Regions from separate parts of the Homo sapiens genome. Here all the other regions are linked to region 1. Evidence: promoter capture Hi-C in 16 types of primary human blood cells and fetal thymus (Javierre and others, 2016). All regions are on one chromosome and are shown on one strand. The core of a region is centred on a gene start or on the middle of the fragment in contact, and the rest is flanking DNA. Distances in the headings are between cores, read along the strand shown.

What was found. Contacts are between HindIII fragments. The CHiCAGO score rates a contact against its expected background, and 5 or more counts as called.
Region 2: the fragment with the promoter of CDKN3 here is called in contact with the fragment with the promoter of PSMC6 in region 1 in 1 of 17 cell types (neutrophils); the score reaches 5.7 in neutrophils.
Region 3: a contact is called between a fragment that was not itself captured here and the fragment with the promoter of PSMC6 in region 1, in 1 of 17 cell types (fetal thymus). The highest score is 6.1, in fetal thymus.

Annotation. Positions count from the first base shown.
Region 1 is chr14:52,705,232-52,709,017 of GRCh38, reverse strand. It overlaps PSMC6 (proteasome 26S subunit, ATPase 6), which reads right to left and starts at 1,818. Exons shown (of 14, transcript NM_002806.5): 1 at 1,714-1,818; 2 at 630-709; 3 at 496-535; 4 at 202-254. The coding sequence starts at 1,798. RefSeq lists enhancers at 1,458-1,507, 1,528-1,777, 2,078-2,137, 2,158-2,267. The HindIII fragment of the contact is 4,351 bases long and covers 1-2,519 here.
Region 2 is chr14:54,394,919-54,398,704 of GRCh38, reverse strand. CDKN3 (cyclin dependent kinase inhibitor 3) reads right to left here and starts at 1,698. Exons shown (of 8, transcript NM_005192.4): 1 at 1,628-1,698. The coding sequence starts at 1,636. The HindIII fragment of the contact is 7,211 bases long and covers 1-2,009 here.
Region 3 is chr14:51,239,835-51,243,620 of GRCh38, reverse strand. TMX1 (thioredoxin related transmembrane protein 1) reads right to left here and starts at 3,374. Exons shown (of 8, transcript NM_030755.5): 1 at 3,177-3,374. The coding sequence starts at 3,328. RefSeq lists an enhancer at 3,096-3,335 and a silencer at 3,196-3,538. The HindIII fragment of the contact is 1,305 bases long and covers 1,387-2,691 here.

The DNA of each region.
Region 1 (3,786 bases), core at 569-3,068:
ACAGTAGAAAGTACGGAATGCCAGGAGTCAAAGCCCATGGTTTGAATTCAGGCTTTGTTAATAACTAGCTATGTCTGAACAAATCATCCTTGTGAGTTATGGGCATAAATGCTCCACCTGCTTGCCTCAAGAATTAGAGACAATAACTTACATGAAACTGCTTTGTCAATCATCAGGCACTATACAAATATAAAGTATTACCTGTCGACGACAACCCACAACATATCTTGGTCCATTGGTAGCTTTAACAATGACTAGAAGAAAAAACATAAAAGAACTAATTGAAAAATAGAAAGTAAAAAAATACATACCCACGTTGACAGAGGGTTTAGTTGTATTTCTGTCCTCCAAGGAGACATTAGTTGAAGGAAAACTTAAGTCTATTCAAAAATACTCTCTCTCTCTGCATTATTGTCATTAAAATAATAAGCATTTCAAAAGTGAGAGAGAGGTGGACTGTTTCTTTACTAATTAATAAGCTAATTCATCACTCACATTTTTCTTCAGTTAACTGTTTAAGCACTTCACCCACGATCTAAGGAAGAAAATAAAAAGCATTACTTTTTGGCAACAGCTAAATAAAAAAGCAAATTACCATCACCCCCTATTCCCCAAACTCCATCACCTACCTGCCCAACACTCTGTAGGGCCTTCAGATCATTTTCAGACTTTTCATACTGCTTGGTAAGTTCTTTTAATTGTTCCCTTACTGAAATAATACAATTTGAACATTTTTAATTGAACAGTAATCTTAGTGTGTTTAAGTCGCTACGTCTCACTTTACTGTTTACGTAAGTCTACTTCACTTTACCTAAGTTTCACATCCACTGTTTCAAACCATAAAAGAAATAATGCTGTTTGTAATGAGTAGGTGGCATGTATAACAACAAAATGTTACAGAGAAAGCACCATACTTTTACTTTGTTGATCGGCAATACTTGTTTAAGCACATCTTAAGTTATAGTCTTAGAAGATATTGACACCCTGACACTTAGGATTTGCGACTACAAATCCGAATGATAATCACTTAGACCCTTCCTCACCTCTTCACCTACCCACGTGGATTGTTCTCTGACATTCTACCCTAAATAAAGTCAACAAATGCAGTTCTCCACAGAATCATGTAATTATGGTCCTCCATTTAATTAAACTACTCATGCTTTTCAATGAAAATGCACTGGAAAAAAAAGTTAAGCACTCAGGAGGTAAGGGAAATTTGTATGCCTGATACAGTACAACACGAAACACAAGACGATATGGGTTATTATGACAACTGGAACACTTCTCTCTTAAGCTCCGCGGCCGTCTTTCGACTCCAAGAACAAGCCGACTCCCTGAGTCTCATCTCTTGTTTGAGCTTACTTGACTCAAGCGCCTTCCCCTCTCCAAGTCCCGGGACTCCACCAAGACTGCCCTTCTTGCACCCTAACCTGGGAAACATCCTCGGCCCACTTCCCCACTCCTCCTCTACTTCTTTTTCATTTTCACCTCAAGGCCGCCGATGTTCTGTCACCCGGGCTGGACTGGGCCATTTCTACACCCGAAGGAGTGCTGCTCCACAAGCTCAGGGCCGGATGACAAAGCGCCTTGTCCCTGGCCCTAGGCCTGGTCATCTCTAAGGCTCGGTTGCCGGGCTCGGCGAAAGGCTTCTGCTTTGTCAGAGGCAGAAGCGAGTCGAGGCACTTGATTAAATGGAAAGAAAGGTGCACTCACACTCCTTAAGACGGCCGTCGATCTCCTTGTGTTCAAGCAACTTCTTGCGGTAGTCCTGAAGCGCCTTATCTCTAGGGTCCGCCATGATGAGAAGCCGTCTCTCATAGGGGATGCCGGGAATGGCCATGGCCGTCCGGGCGGGGGAAGGGGCGGGGCGAGGGGCGAAACCCTGCCTGGAGGGGTGGGTTCGCCCATGAGCCCTCCCCTTCCGGTTGGCCCCGTCTTTCTACTCCACTTCCACCTCTATGTCTCGGTTCACCTAGAGCGCCGGCATACACTGAAAGAGGCCTCCACCTATACCGTTTCTTGCAAGCCGAGATAGGTAAAGCAGGACTCAGTTATCCCGGTCTTCCCCTGAGAGGCCTCAGTATTAAGTCACTGCTGTCCCGGAAGTATAAAAGGCTCTGTAATAAACTGAGATGGAAGTGAAGTAGGAAATGTGTAATACCTCAAAGGAGTTCCGATGGCCTGTCGACACAACACAGATGGCCTTTGTTATAACACAGTACTGTCCAAGACCTCCACGTGCTGGAGAAGTAGACAGTTTTATTCATCCATTCAGTCAGTGAATGAGGTATTAAAGGTAGATCTGCTTATCATTTGATAGGAAATAATAATAAAAAAAACTTCAGAGTTTAACAAATACTGTGAAGGAATTAAAACACGGTGAGAAGTATGGTGGGAAGAATTAATCTAGAACAGATATCTGAGATGAGAAGGAGCCAGCCTTGCAACAACTGAAGAAAACCTAAACAAACAGTGCAAGTCCTGGAGTGGAGTGGGGTGGGGGTTGTGGGTAGAAAGCTTGACTCACTTCCAGGAACAGAAAGGAGGCCAATGAGACCAGTAGGGGGTGGGTTGTAGAGATGTGGGGTACAAGATAAAGATGCTGAAGTAGGCTGAGGCAGGAACTTTGAAGTCTGATAGAACCTTCAGATTTATGTATTTATTTATTTACTTTTGAGATGGAGTCTTGCTCCTGCCGCACAGGCTGGAGCGGTGACGCGATCTCAGCTCACTGCAACCTCCACCTCCCGGGTTCAAGCAATTCTCCTTCCTCAGCCTCCGGAGTAGCTGGCATTACAGGTGTGCGCCACCACAACCGGCTAATTTTTGTATTTTTAGTAGAGACGGGGTTTCGCCATGTTGGCCATGCTGGTCTCGAACTGCTGACTTCAGGTGATCCACCCTCCTCAGCCTCCCAAAGTGCTAGGATTACAGGTGTGAGGCACTGCGCCCGGCCAGATTTTTTTTTTTTTTTTTTTTTTTTTGAGTCTGTGTCTCACTCTGTCACCCAGGCTGCAGTGTAGTGGTGCGATCTTGGCTCACTGCAACCTCTGCCTCCCGGGTTCAAGCGATTGTCGTGCCTCACCCTCCTGAGAAGCTGGGATTACAGGCGCCCGCCACCACGCCCGGCTCATTTTTGTATTTTCAGTAGGAATGGGGTTTCACCATGTTGGCCAGGCTGGTCTCCAACTACTGACCTCAAGTGATCCGCCCGCCTCAGCCTCCCAAAGTGTTGGGATTACAGGCGTGAGCCACGACGCCTGGCCAACTTTCAGATTTTTGTGATTTGGGGAAAATTACATACTCCCTCAATATCTCTGTAAAATGATCATAATAATTGCACTTATCTAATGGGGTTGTCATGAGTATTAAATAGGATAATGTGCCTAAACACAACATCTGCCACATGGCATGTACTCAATAGTGTTCTTTTGAATAGATATTTATTTTAAGGGTAGTAATGACTCCAATTTTTGCATTACAGGTCCTCATTGCTATACCTCTTGCTATCATTGTTCCTGGGGACAATTAATTGTTGTCCAAAAAACATGAGTAAAATTCTCCAAATAGATTCCATTTGGTCTCACCTTATCCAATGGCCATGAATGTTTGAGTTTAAATATATACATCCTAAATATACAAATAAAGTACAAATTTTTGTAAATTAATGACCCAAAGTCACATAAAGGATGCCTTCAAATTTATTAGGAACAATTCTCATGGGTATTGTGTGAATATTCCATTCTATTTTTCTTTTTTTTTTTTTTTTTTTTTTTTTTTTTTGAG
Region 2 (3,786 bases), core at 449-2,948, 1.7 Mb before region 1:
CACTCCTTGTTGAAATTTTAAGGAATCAAAAGAAAAAGAAAAACAAAAACAAAACAGAACAAAACCCATACCCTTTTCTCACTCCCTAGTTGAAACCAATTGAAAGATAAAGAAATGGAGTTTTATTATTGTATATCAAATGGAGTATGCAGCTTAAAGCTGTTGCCACGTGGGCTTGCCCCTTGTTCACCCCAGAATTAGACAAATGTATCCACCCAGTCACAGGTGGCCATGGACAGTCTGGGGCTCCTGTGTGCCAGAGAGTGGACCAGAAAGCACCTTCTGCAGGCAGGCAGGTAGATCCCAAGAAAGAAGGAAAGAAAAAGTTGAGATACTGGTGTTCAGTTCCTTCCAAACTCGGGGATCAGATAACTCAATGGGGACAGGTGGAGAAAGAGGCCAGGAGTGAAGGACAGCTGATGTCCCTCCACATGGCAACATAGGGATTAGCAATTGTAAGCACCTAATGCTCTTTCTAGCTCTGAAGCTATATTCTACAACGGTCTTGGTACTAGAAGATCACAGGACGGCTAATTTAGGCTACGGACTTTTTTTTCTTTCTTTCTTTTATCTTGAGATAGGGTTTTGCTCTGTCGCCCAGGCTGGAGGGCAGTGGCGTGATATCCGCTCACTGCAACCTCTGCCTCTTGGGTTCAAGCTATTTGCGTGGCTCAGCCTCCCGAGTAGCTGGGACTACAGGCGTGCACTACCACGCTCAGCTAATGTTTGTATTTTTAGTAGAGACGGGGTTTCACCGTGTTGGCTAGGCTTGTCTCCAACTCCTGGCCTCAAGTGATCCGCCCGCCTTGGCCTCCCAAAGTGTTGGGATTACAGGCGCGAGACACCACCCGGCCCTAGGCTATGGATTTCTGTTGCTTTGGCTCTATCTGAAGTATTATAATCAACTGCACCCAAAGGAAAGGCTTCCAGTAGGTTGTCAAGCCGGGCAGTAGGAAATATGGGTTAGGTGGGGGATCTTCAGCTCCTTGCCTGCATCTGTTTTTTCTTTAAAGCAACTTTGATGATTCATATTTCAAATTTGTGTGGCCCATTCACCAGGTTTATTAATCCTAACAGAGCTGGACGTTTCTGCTTCCCCAGGCCCTGTGATTCTGAACGTCACGGGAAAAGAGCAGCATTGCCAGGTGGCCCTGGGGCATGGTGACAGCGGTGGTGTCGCCCACAAGCCGCGGCGTGGCATTCGTACTCAAGGTTTCCCCAGGCCCTGTGGGCGCAGGTAGCGCCCGGCCACCCTTCGGGGCTGGGGTATCGCGCCCACTCATCGCTGACACTCAAGCTCTTCGGCTCGGTTTCCTCGGTACAACGAGGCTCGGCCCTCTTTGGCTGGGCGGCTGGGAGGCTTATGAGACCCCGCAGGGGACAGGTGACAGCCCACAGCAGGTGCACAGCGAATGTCCGTCTTTCCTTCGTCGGCCACCGACCCTGCTCCTTCGTCTCTCGTGCCCGTGCTGGGCCCGTGCGAGTCACCTCCCCGACCCGCAGAACGGTTACGGCGCCAGTCGCACTGCTACCAGGCTAGGGCTGCCCTCCGGCCCAGGATCGGGTCCCCGGGACCGCTTGCGTCCCTGCCGCCTCGCTCCTCCAAACCCCAGCACGTCCGACTCACCGGCTTCATCGCTGGCCGCCCCACGTCGAGACCAGTGCCGCCTCCCTCTGCAGCGCCGGCGACTCACCGGTGCCCCGGCCGAGCCCGCGCCCCGCAGCTTAGCTCACTGGTTCGTCCTTCTGTGAGGTGGGCGCGGCGTCTTCCAGCAACCAATCAGATCCGCTTCTGGTTTCTTACTCCGCCTTTGGGTGGCCGAAGACTCGGCCTCTAATCGCTGACTGGTTCCTAGAAGACCTTTGAAAGACGCGCGGGAGGCGGGCCCTGTGGGACGTTGATTGGCTGGGAGGGCGCCCTCCTCCCGCCAGTTGGGAGAGTGCAGGGGGCGGAGGCGGGGCGGAAGAGTCAGAAGGCGGCCCTAGCGCTTGGGGGACGCTGGAAAGCTTTGCTTCTTGATGGCAGGATGTCAGCGTGGTCCATACGGTTGGGAGGTGATTTTTTTTTTTTTCTTGAGACGGAGTTCGCTCTTGTTGCCCAGGCTGGAGTGCAATGGCGCGATCTCGGCTCACCGCCACCTCCGCCTCCCGGATTCAAGCGAGTCTCCGCCTCACCCTCCCGAGTAGCTGGGATTACAAGGATGTGCCACCAAGCCTGACTAATTTTTGTATTTTTTGTAGAGACGGGGTTTCTCCATGTTGGTCAGGCTGGTCTCGAACCCGGGTTGGGAGTTTTTGTGTTTGTGACGGAAGTCTTACTATGTTGCCCAGGCTGGCCTCGAACTCCTGTCCTCAAGCAATCCTCCCGCCTTAGCCTCCCTTGTAGCGGCTACGGTAGGGAGTTTTTGTTTCTTTAAGTTGTATTTTTATTTTTTATTTTTTAAGGGCTCAGGGAAGCACTGTATTGGATCGTCACATGAAAAACATCACATAGACTTTGTAATTATATCTAGACATACAAATACTAGGGAAAAAACTAAAAATTTAGAGTATAAACATATTTTATATGCTTGAAGTTTTAGTTTATCGTTCCAGAAACTAGACAAGTTACAGTGTAGATCAATATTCCTGTCCCCCAAATATGAATTAAATTATATTGTGTGAAAGGGAAATTATAAAATGCCAGGTAAGATAGGTCTAAGGGCCAGTGTGTCTACATAATTAGCTGTAATCTTTTAAAAATGTGAGTATTTCTCCGCCTTCTCCAGTCCCCATTTAACTAGCCATGGGAAAGGAAGTCGCCTGGAGCAGATCTGAGAAAAATATGCAGAAATTTCAACCCCTGATTCATGTTGTGAAAGCCAATGGGTATAGAGCTATTAGAAGGAATTCCTTAGTAAAGAAGGTACCACAGTTTGATTTAGAGACTGTATTAGCTAGTCATGGTTGCCCAGAGATAAAGAATGAATAGGATGTGTATATATGGATATAGAAACAGATTTATTTTAAGGAATTGGCTCCTGTGCTTGTGGAAGCTTGGAGAGTCCAAAATCTGATGGGGGGAGGCCAGTGCGCTGGAGACTCAGGAAAGGCTGTACTTCGAGTCCAAAAGCTGTTGTAGAACAAAGAAGAGCCAATATTGCATGTAAAGTCTGAAGGCTGTCTACTGGCAGAATTACCCCTTGCACAGGGCAGGGTCAGCCTTTTGTTGTATTCAGCTCGTCAACTGATTGGATGAGGCCCATCCATATTATGGATGGCAGTCTGCTTTACTCAACGTTTCCCAATTTAATGCAAATCTCATCCAAAAACACTTTCACAGAAACATCCAGAATAATGTTTGTCCAAATAACTGGGCACCATGGCCCAGTCAAGCTGATGCACAAAATTAACCATCCTAGACACCCACAGAGATTTTCCATACTCGGGAAATCCTTTTAGATCTGTGCTGTTCAATATGGTGACCATATTGGCTGATTATCTCAGGCCAAATTAGAAAACAAAATCAAATCAAAGGCCAAATTAGAAAACAAAATTTTTGTGTGAACTCAAGGGCTACTTGGGAAATACTGCTCTCTTTTAATATAGATCTGCTTCCTCAGATGAAGGCCTTAGTAGGGTTAAGGAACAGACCACACCCACCACGTATTTATAGCTATTGTTTTGATATGTAGGTTTCCATTTCATATTAGAAACGGCCATGGTACTGTGTACAAGAGAATGTAGGTGGGTATGCATGTCTAGACGTAGAATCCCGCCTTTGGTCAAATAATGAACCCGTATTTA
Region 3 (3,786 bases), core at 790-3,289, 1.5 Mb after region 1:
CAGGATTTTTTCACATGCAAAACAGCTCTTTAGAAAACTTTTGCATTTCTCTATTAACGGTGTGGCCACCAGAAAGCTCAAGACCAAAGTTAGAGCTTACCAATTTTAATAATTTATAATGCAGAGTCACAAATGCAAGGTGTTGGAAAAACAGAAGTGTCCTGGGCTGTGGTGAATAAGAAAGCACATATTCCATCTTAAAGTGGCAACCATTATTAAGTAGGATTGCCACTAAGGATGCTGGCACACTAAGGCTGGCTATTCATATTTAAAAGAAGATGGAGAGCTGCATTTTTATATGAGAATGTTACCTCAAAAAATAACCCACACACAAATACTAAGCAGGCCAAACAAAACTCTTGGCCAGTTAGGTCATCCTGTTTCCAAGACCTTGGATTTACAAATGCAAGCATATTAGCATTTAAATTACTCCTCTGGTATTATCTCCTGAGGATCTTATTTTTCCACTTTATTGTATTTTATCTTATAATACACCACAGGGTTGTTCTTTTTTTTTTTTTTTTTTTAACAGAACCAGGAAGAATAAAGCCTAAAGCAGTTAAACACAAAACTATACTTTCTGTACTTCACATTTTCTTCACTTGTTTTATGAAAACCAAACTCCTAAAATAGACATTGTAGAACAAGACAAACTGGTAGTATAAAAGCCAAGCTCCTAACAATAAATCGTATTACAATGAAAATATCTCCATGACAAAACTTCTGAGCAGAAATGGATTTACTGTAGATAATTCACTTGTAATTAGGAGCAGACTATTACTAAAACTACTAGAGTCCTTCTTTTTCAGGTTCGTTTTGTTGCTCAGTTGCTTTTTTATTTTTTGAAACAGGGTCTCGCTTTGTTACCCAGGCTGGAGGGCAGTGGCGCCATCTGGGCTCACTGCAACCTCAACCTCCCGGGCTCAAGACATCCTCCCACCTCAGCCCAAGTAGCTGGGACTACAGATGCCTGCCCACACGCCCAGCTAATTTTTCGTATTTTTTTGTAGAGACTGGTTTTTGCCATGTTGCCCAGGCTGTCAGTTGCTTTCTAAAAACTTACTTTAGAATCTCTACTTAAGGAAAAAGAAAAACTACTACTCTATAGCATAATTTCAGATAGATGCTCCAATGTGGATTTACCTCATACTCAATGTTTTGTTAGTCTTGTTCTCCTTAATACTACTTCTGATTGCTGTATTTATATAGTTGGACCATAATGAGTTAAAAAATATCCTTGAGTAATACTTGACTGTATTTTGCATATACACACACGATCACTATTGCTTAATATATTGCTTATAACACTATTTTACAGGCACGATCTAAAACAAGTTACTCATGATGATGACTGAAAAAGTGTCACAGTTCCTCTCCCCTGAAGCTTTCAATGGTGCCTGAATGAAAATTCATTTCAGAATTGCAGACTACATGCATACTATGAAAATTTCCCTTTATCTTACCCTCCATATAAATGTTCTACTTTTTTTTTGAGATTGAGTCTCACTCTGTCGCCCAGGCTGGAGTGCAGTGGTGCGACCTCGGCTCACTGCAACCTCTGACTCCCAGATTCAAGCGATTCTTCTGCCTCAGCCTCCCGAGTAGCTGGGACTACAGGCGCGTGCCACCACGCCCAGGTAATTTTTTGTATTTTTAGTACAAACGGCGTTTCACCGTGTTAGCCAGGATGGTCTCGATCTCCTCACCTCGTGATCCACCGGCCTCGGCCTCCCAAAGTGCTGGGATTACAGGCGTGAGCCACCGCGCCGGCCAGTTTTGTTTTTTTAAAAAATAACACAGGACTTACTGATTTAGCCTTCTGGGTTCTCCCTTGGGGATGTCACTTTCACTGGCCTCCTTAACTTGACAACCCTTGCTGTATTCGTGACACAAGAAAACACTCACCTGAACCCTGTTGTCTTTTCATTTTTATTTATTTACTTATTTATTTTGCTAGTTGCCCAGGATCTCTTGAACCCCTGGGCTCAAGTCATCCTCATACCTCAATCTCCTGGGTAGCGTACGCCACTTCCAGCTGAACCTTTTTAAAGAAGAAGGTGTTCTAACAACAATTATTGTATGCCTACTCTGAAGACCCAAAGAAAGCCAGCACAGCAATATCTGCATAGGTTAACTAAAGTATTTAGGTATCTTGTTACTCATTTGTAAAACGTGAAAAACACCTGTCATAGAGAATTTGTAGGGAATTAAATATGGTATTCGTGTAAAGGTGCTTAGTGGTGTCCAGTACACTGTTAATAATTATGCTTTTACTATTATCAGTAAATACTGCTAATATGTATAATACCACCATCAACAACGACTTAGCATCTAAAGCAAAGACAGATACTTTATTTCCCACCGCGGCAGAACAGATATTATTAAATTGAAATCACCACACAAAATACATGATTTCGTTCGAGCAATAAATGATGACCTGGCGCTCTTGAGAGTGTATACATTAATACATTATCTTTTAATGTAATACCATTTACAAAGACCTAGGAGTCACAACCCAAGGTATTCTCTACACTACAAAGACACCCAAAGGAAAAATGAGATGAGGAGTGAAAAAAAGAGAAAGCAAAAGAGGAGGCAAAAAGAGAAAACGAAAACTTAAAAATAACCCAACTTGAATTGACTCAGTATTTACAATAAAAAAGAAACGTACCCAATCCATTAAAAAAAGCTTAAAAGCGCCAAATTCCAACACCATAAAGAGACTATCTTTTAAGGACAGACAAAACGAGAGGAGAAATTTTGCTCAATATTCTCTTATGTAAAATGTGGTGAAAATAAGTGTAGAAGTCTGTGAAGAATCACTTTAACTACTTAGACACGAGTCGGACACCTCCCTCCCCGCGCCCCAGTCGCATCCTCAAAGTCATGAAAAATGTCAGAATTCGCATTGGCACTAACCCTTTGGGCGCACCACAACCCAAGAAACGAAACGAGGGTGCACCCCAGAAGAAACTTAACATTCACGGGTAAGAGACGAGGGGGTGGGACCAAGCTGGCGGCAGATCCCAAGAGTTTGGGGAGCTGCAGAAGTCGGGGACGCTCGCTCCGCAACTCGGAGGCGCAGTCCTGGGGAGCCTGCGACCCGCACGAGGAACGTGCGGGGTGAAGTCGTGTGTCCAGGCACGGACGTAGGACCCTGGCCGCCCCGCACTCACAATTCTATCATCCAGTCTCCTTCCAGCAGTTCTCTCCAGTTCTCGTCCGTGATGACGCGAACGTTGCTCCGCCGCCCGTGCGTCCAGGGAGCACCCCAAAGCAACAGCACCAGGACTGCCAGGGGAACTGCAAGACTCCCGGAGGGCGCCATTTCGCCGCTTGCCCACCTCACAGGGAGCGCGGTCGCAGCTCCCACTTCCGCCCTCGCGGGCTGCTCAGCGCAAGCGCACTACGGTGCTGCGAGGAGCGCCTGTCTAGAGGACTCTCAATGCGCATGACAGGGGTCTGATCCCAGTGAGTGGTGAAGTCGGGAAAGAGGGAAGAACGACTCTCCGCAATGCGCATGACAGAAAAGCGGCTGCTTCTACCGCCTAGGGTGTCCCAATATTGTGGGGGAAGGAACAGAGCAAAAGGAGGCGTGGTGTAAAAAGTGGGGCGGTGCTTTGAGGAAGAACGGTTTAAAAGACCCTCCCAGGATTTTGGCGCCAAATGGTTAGCGTTTACAAGCAAATTGGTAAGTTTATAATGTGCTAAAGCAGTTTTCCAATTAAATGTCCTTCAGAGTTCTCATTTGTTTTCTTTGAAACATGTAGTAAAGCTAATGGATTT